Regions from separate parts of the Homo sapiens genome. Here region 1 is linked to region 2. Evidence: promoter capture Hi-C in 16 types of primary human blood cells and fetal thymus (Javierre and others, 2016). All regions are on one chromosome and are shown on one strand. The core of a region is centred on a gene start or on the middle of the fragment in contact, and the rest is flanking DNA. Distances in the headings are between cores, read along the strand shown. Region 1 holds the start of MNT (MAX network transcriptional repressor). Region 2 overlaps PRPF8 (pre-mRNA processing factor 8).

Region 1 (3,402 bases), core at 776-3,275, 720 kb after region 2:
CGGCACACGGCGGCGCGCGCGCACACAACACACTACTACCTCCTGCATGACTCATCATTGAAGCAACAATAGGCAGAGAGAAAGGAAAGGAGGGCGAAGCACTCTCCAACACAACCAACCCTGCCGGGGGATTCTGGGGGGCGGGGAGGGCACAGGAGTCCCCGGGTCCTGCACACACACCGTTCCAGAGCCGAGGCCCTGGCAGCACCCTGGAAAAGGGAGGTCTTTCCCGCCAGCCCCTCTGCAGCACCCTGAAGCCAGGGACCACCAACAGGGCGCGTGAAGATAGGAGTCATTAGTCTCTTCCCTTTCGAGGGAGCGCCGAAGTTTGCCCTTTCTCATCCTGGCTCATTCCAGCGTGGCCCCGGCTGATGCCAGGGGGCATAGTTGGAACGTTTTGGGGGTCAGTGGAAAAATGTGAGCTCTAAATGTCTCGTCGCCCTGCGATTCTGAGGGTTTCCCTTGCCTCGGGATCAAACACAGGAGGTTAGGGGCCAGAGCCGACAGGTGAGCTCGGCTCCTCCCTCGCAGGGCAAAGGCTCTCCCTGGGAGGTGCCCAGAGGCCGGGGCCCGGGCCCAGGCCCAACCCAGCGCAAGGCCCCTTGCCAGCCCCGCCCAGGCCCCGCCCCCGGCCGAGCGCGAGGCGGTGAGGAGGGGCCGGGCCGCGCCGTCCCCAGCAGGAGTGTCCCCGGTGCACGTGGTCGGGGGCGGAGCCCGTCCACGTCACCACCCGGTGTAACCAACGGGCTCGGAACGCAGGCACACGCAACATTCCAGGCGAGAGCGGGTTTGGAACGCGCAGACACGCCACATTCCACACTGGCTAAAGCGGGGCGCAGCGAGGGGGGCCCGGGGGCTGACCCCCAGCGACCCGCGGGCCATTTCGCAAACGCCCAATTAGCCCGGCTTTCACCCAAACCCCGGACGCGCAGCCCAGCCCAGCTCTGGGAGGCGGGGTCAGGCGGGGCTGGCCAGGATCATAAGACACGCGATGTCATTTCATTCTGCAAAGGCCGCCTCCGCCCCAAGCGGCGCGTAGATCTGCCGGGAGCGCCCCCCGCACCCTCCCCACGGGGCCAGGGAAGCCGAAGAGCTGCTCCGCGTAGAGTAGTCCCCACCCCCACTCCGTTACACACACGCCCACTCGTGTGCTATACACACGCCCGTGTACACGTCCGTTCATCTGCTCTTCCCGAGGCTCACATCACACATCCCCCGTGCACACACGCACGCACACGCGAGCCTGCCACCCCCACGCAACACCATTCCTCACCCCACCCCCCGGCTCACACATCCTCAGTGCCACCGAGGGCTCCGCTGGCCCACGCAAAAGCAGCCCACCACAGAAGGGGCACAGGGGTGCCACGCAGCCGGGGTGGCGCCCGCAGGAGCCAGGTCCCTCGCAGCATGTTAATGAATTCATTAATTAATTTCACTGCCCACATCACCCCTCCCCAGGCGGCGGCTCTCGCGGGGAGCCGTGCGCTGCCAGGCTCCGCAGGCCGCCCGGGAGGGGGCCCTGTCCGCGGTTTCGCGTGGGTTCGGGGACCGGGGTCACTCGCTTCCCCTTCCCCAGTGCCCCAGGGGCCCAGCCCGGCCGCTCACCACGTGCTCTCTGTTGTTGCTGCGCTTGCCATTCCAGGAAGCGGGCCGCCTCCAGTAGCGTCTCTATGCTCATCGCGCCGAGAGCTGCCGGGGGCGCGCCGGGGCCGAGGCTGCGGCCCGCGAGCCGGGCACAGGTCAGGCTGGCGGGCAGGCAGGAGGGAGGGATCACCTCCGGGGGGCGACAGGGCTGGGCGGCGCAGCGCACTCCGCAGGGAAGAACGGGGGAGCACGGGGAGAAAAATCAATGTCTCTCAAAATATTTGCAAAATATAAAATTGCAAATTTAAAAAAATGGGATGCAAAAAAAAAAAAAAGGCGGCACTGCCTCCCTTCTTCCCCTCCCTCTCTACCTCCCTTCCGATGCCTCCCGCCCCGCGGCCCCCGGGAGTCCCGCCGACAAGAAAGGGCTTTGCAACAAGATGGCGAGGAGGCACCGACACACACAACAAGGGAAGGAGCCGCGCTGCCCCCGGCCGCCGCCCCCGCTACTACACCGGGGCCACAGCCAAAGCCCGGACCGGAGCCCCCGCCCGCAGGGCCGCGGCGTCTCGCGAAGGGAGGGGCGGGTCCTGCGCTGCTGGCCCCGCCCCCCGGATCCGGCGCGCGCACACGTGGCCCGGGCAGGGAGGGAGAGGTCCGAGCGGGGTGTGCGCGCCGCGGTTCCGCTTTCCTGCTGGCCCCGCCCCGGCTGCAAGCCACAAGTTGGGCCGGGGCGGTGCGTTTGGGTCGTTCACGACGAAATCTGTCCTGCTGGAGGGAGGGTAGGGTGAACAATTCAAGATTTAACAGAGTTCCAACCAGGATATTCCGGGTCAGGGAAACCTTGGGAATGGCAGAGACTGGCCTGACCCTGGGTCTCCACGCTCCACCCACTCGCGACCTAAATCCCGCAATCGCCGGGCTGTCGCAATTCCCCCGGGATCCGCCCCTGGGCGGAGCTGCCGGCGACTGGAGACTGTCAAGAGAACCAGCGGAGGGAGCGGAGCGGCAGTCCGGCTCCGCGTTTTGTCTCCGTTCCTCCCCCCGCAGTGCGTTCGCATCCTATTAGGGGACGTCACCGGGCCGCGAGCCAATGGGCGGGCAGGACAACACGGCATGGAGCAGCTCCACATGGACACCCCGCGCCGCCAGCCTTCGGTTTAAAGGGCCAGTGTCTGCAGGTCACATTCGCGGGTGCGGATGGGGCCACTGGGCGAACCCAGGGTGGGATGCCGTAAGGGGAATCCCGCAGTCGTGCCCTGGCCTCTCCATTCCTTTTCACCACCTTCCATTTAAAACCAGGCCTTTATCTTTCCTTCCCCTGAACTCCAGTCTTTGTCCACGCGTATTCGATGTGGGTGGAGATACGGACTGTGCCACCCCATGGGCCACCCTTTCCTCTGGGGCCGGGGCCAGGGCGGGGAACACGAAGCGCCCGCAGCCCAGACCGGGGGGCGTGGCCCAAATCGGGAACAACAACGTGGAGGGCGGAAGCCCGGCCCTCCCCGCGCCTGGCGACCGGCGGTGGGCGGGGCGCGGGGGCGGGGTCCGCTGCGGCCGGCTGGAACCGCGCTCCCCAGAGGGAGGGACCCCCCGTCGCCCGCCCGCCCGCCCGCGTCTTCCGGGCTCGAGTGTTTAGGGGAGCTCGGGTGCAATCGGAGAGTTAGCTCTTTGAGGCCGGCTGCCCTTAAATCCTCTCACTTCACACATAAGGAAACTGAGGCCGTGACGGCCAAGGACTCGCCTAAGGTCGTTCCGTATTCCACCTGCTCCTCTCTCCCGAAGCGGGGGCACTCTTCCCTGACCCCAGGGACGACT
Region 2 (3,321 bases), core at 399-2,898:
TGCCTTCAGATAGAGCCGGGTGAGGCGGCCCAGATTCTTTTTACAAACAGTCTTGTCCACAGTGGCCCCTCGGCGGATCCGTTCTCGGTTGTAGTGGGCAGTGTTGGTCCACCAGTCAGCCTTGGCCTTCACGTATCGAAGGATCATATTCTCTATGGGCGTCGGCAGCCCAGGGACCTAAAAGTCCAAAAAGCACAATCAAGCCAGGATCCAGCCAGGCACTGTGGCACACATCTGTAGTCCCGGCTACTCAGGAGGCTAAGGAGGATCGCTTGAGCTCAGGAGCTTGAGGCCAGCCTAAGCAACATGGTGCTTCTTTTCCCTGTCTAAAAGGGAAAAGAAAAGAGATTGGAGCCAGATAGCCCCCTAATGATTCCCGAAGTGGTAATCCTACCCTAAAGACGGATGTTTACGCCTCCAAGGAAATAAAGAGACACCCACCTTCCAGGGAATGTTGGCTTTCCAGCAGCGCCAGGCTTCACTGAGGTGCTGCAGGATTGTCCGGGCCTTGTTCTGCTTGATCCCCTCAGGCATCATGTCCAGAATATCATGCATCACAGCTGCCCGCAGCTCAAGGTCAAAATGTGACTCCACTCGCTGCTTTGTTACTGTCTTTGCCACCCCCTTTGAGTGTCGACCTGGAAGTAGAGTGTCCCAAGGGGATTACAAGGAAGATTCCTTGCTTTCAATAAGGGTCTCTACCTTCATGCTCCTCACTCATTATGGTTATTAATAAAATTAGGTATTAACAAAGCGTCCCTGTGCCCAGCATATGCAAAAAGACGAGCTACCTTAAACATTCACAACTATGCTTCTGAGGAATTTCCACTCCTGCAAATGCATGACTGCCTCTCAAGGCCCCAGAAGGAAGCCCAAGAAATAGAATACTAGGTCAGACTCATTTCAGAACTGGACCTAAAGGCAATCCAGTAGGAAGAGTGCTCATACAAGAGCAGGGAACAGACTCAAACAGGGGCAGGTACTTTTGAAGCAATAACAGGAGAAGTTGGACACAGAGAAAACCACTCACCTTCAAACTGCCGGGCCAGGAGGTTGCCAAGCCATCGCTCTAATAAAGGGGTAATGCCACGCATGAAAAAGAGCCAGACTCGCCAACCGGCAGCCCAGAAGCCACAGCCAGGACCCTTCCCTACAGGGCCCTACGATCCCAAGCAGAAGTTAAGAATACAAGTTAGCAATGCATTTAAACAACAATAGAAACCTGGGCAGAGGTGGGGCATATATGTATAATATACATACAGAGGAATGTAGGTATGGCAGTAGAGGGGTAAAAAGAAAAAAAAACTCTGGGACCTCAACATCTAAAACAAAAGGGTAAATGAGAAACCTTAAGGCAAAAACCAGGAACTAAGATCGCCCATGTGAATTTAAAGGAGCAGTAAGGACACAGTCATAGCTGCTCTCCAAATAGGTCCCTGGAAAGAGCCCTGTCTAAATGTATACATGAAAAAAGATCTGAGAAAGTTAAGTCCAGTGAGGCTGGGCACGGTGACTCACGCTGGTAATCCCAGTACTTTGGGAGGCCGAGGAGTGTGGATCACCTGAGGTCAGGAGTTCAAGACCAGCCTGGCCAATACAGTGAAACCCCATCTCTACTAAAATTTCAAAAACTAGCCAGGCATGGTGGTGCGCGCCTGTAGTCCCAGCTACTTGGGAGGCTGAAGCAGGAGAATCACTTCAACCCGGGAGGCGGAGGCTGTGGTGAGCCAAGATCGTGCCATTGTACTCCAGCTGGGGCAACAGAGAAAGACTCAGTTTCAAAACAAAACAAAAAAAAAATTGCCAGGCGTGGTGGCGGGCACCTGTAATCCCAGCTACTCGGGAGGCTGAGGCAGGAGAATTGCTTGAACTCAGGAGGCGGAGGTTGCAGTGAGCCAAGATCGTGCCATTGCACACCAGCCCAAGAGACAAGAGTAAGACTCTGTCTCAAAAAAAAGAAAGTCAGTAAAGTCAAGGTCTCACCGTGTTGAAACGATAATAGATGAGATGCTTCAGGTCCTTGCACATGCGAATCTGTCGCATCAGCTTGTATTTGTATCGATACATGCCCGTCAACTGCCCAACATGGGCAAATATATACTGCAATCCATCTGCCAGCTGCAATACAATTGCCCCATCAGACCTGGAGCTTAAACCAGCTCCACGGTCAGCACAGGCTTCCTCCAGCGTCCTCACCCAGGCAGGGGTTGGGAATACCTAACCTTACCTGGAAGGCATCCACATTGCCCAGCCGATACTGCACGTGACTATCCACCACCAGCTTAGTCAAACGCAGAACTTCCCGACACAGGTGGAAAGCATTCCCAAAACGAGATTTCTTTCTTTCCTGGAGAAGATGCAAAAAACAGACAGAACGTGAATGAGCAATGGACCCAACTGATGTATGCCTTCATCAGTAACCAGAGGAAAACAACTGTCCGTCCTTGAAGCCCAGGAGGCCCCTAGGGTCCAATGCAGGCACCTTGGTGGTGAGCGTTTTCACAGGCTTGAGGTTGAAGTTGTAGTCCAGGTGCAGGTAGTTGAGGTTTTTGCGGTGAATGAGAAGGTTGAGCATGTTGTAGCCCTGGCGGCAAACCTGGAGCCCAACCTCCACCCAGTCCAGCTTTGTGGACTGAAAGAATTTGGTGGCTTTGAAGGAGCGGAACAAATACCTGAGGTGGGAACATGGAGAGTAAGAGTCAGCCTACTGATATCTCTGGAACAGAAGTCTGCGCAGGGCCCCTGGGGCACCTTACCTCTTCTTTTGAGCCTTAGGGGGCCGATGCTTCAGGGCATTCAGCACATAGTACTTAAGCAGCTTCTGGTAGGAGACCCTCACTTTCACAGGCTGCCCGGCAGGACAATGCTCCCGATACCTGGAAAAATAAGCCCACCAGAGTTTGGCCATCTCTTCTTCCAGACACTCTGCTAAAGGCTGCAAGCCTTGGGTTGTCTACCATTTTTATGGGAAAAAAAAAAAAAGAATTTAAAAAAAAGGCTACATGCCCACCTAGTTGGAGTCTTTTCTCCTACACATCCACTATCATTCCCCCTGCCACAGGGAAAAACCTTACCAGTTCTTGACAAGGGGTATGTCCAGGGCCCGACGGGTGCGACCAGAGCGTAGGTTGAAGGGCCGCGGGGCCCAGAGCAGGGCAATGCCATTGGCTGTATTGTCTGTATAGAGGGGTGTGTCCTTCAGGAAGGGCTCCACAAACTCCGGGAGCTCAAATTCCTCATCATCATCCGGCAATGGTTCCTGGCTCTGAAAAAGGAATCCCTCTAAGGGTTTAGCTCCTGCTGAACTAGGCACAGACTTAA

The links. The method cuts DNA at HindIII sites, captures the fragments that hold promoters and counts their contacts. A CHiCAGO score of 5 or more calls a contact.
Region 1: the fragment with the promoter of MNT here is called in contact with a fragment that was not itself captured in region 2 in 1 of 17 cell types (naive CD4 T cells); the score reaches 5.4 in naive CD4 T cells.

The regions. Positions count from the first base shown.
Region 1 is chr17:2,399,035-2,402,436 of GRCh38, forward strand. MNT (MAX network transcriptional repressor) reads right to left here and starts at 2,026. Exons shown (of 6, transcript NM_020310.3): 1 at 1,606-2,026. The coding sequence starts at 1,678. RefSeq lists enhancers at 1-140, 1-92, 711-1,281, 2,572-2,621, 2,993-3,402 and 1 more, a cis regulatory region at 13-28 and silencers at 502-991, 1,512-1,571, 1,722-1,801, 1,992-2,301, 2,952-3,271. The HindIII fragment of the contact is 11,182 bases long and covers 1-3,402 here.
Region 2 is chr17:1,676,535-1,679,855 of GRCh38, forward strand. It overlaps PRPF8 (pre-mRNA processing factor 8), which reads right to left. Exons shown (of 43, transcript NM_006445.4): 9 at 3,075-3,265; 10 at 2,757-2,876; 11 at 2,483-2,672; 12 at 2,228-2,347; 13 at 1,984-2,118; 14 at 1,031-1,160; 15 at 442-638; 16 at 1-177. Among named protein-coding and RNA genes, the nearest start is that of PRPF8, 6.7 kb to the right of the region's middle. The HindIII fragment of the contact is 3,942 bases long and covers 1-3,321 here.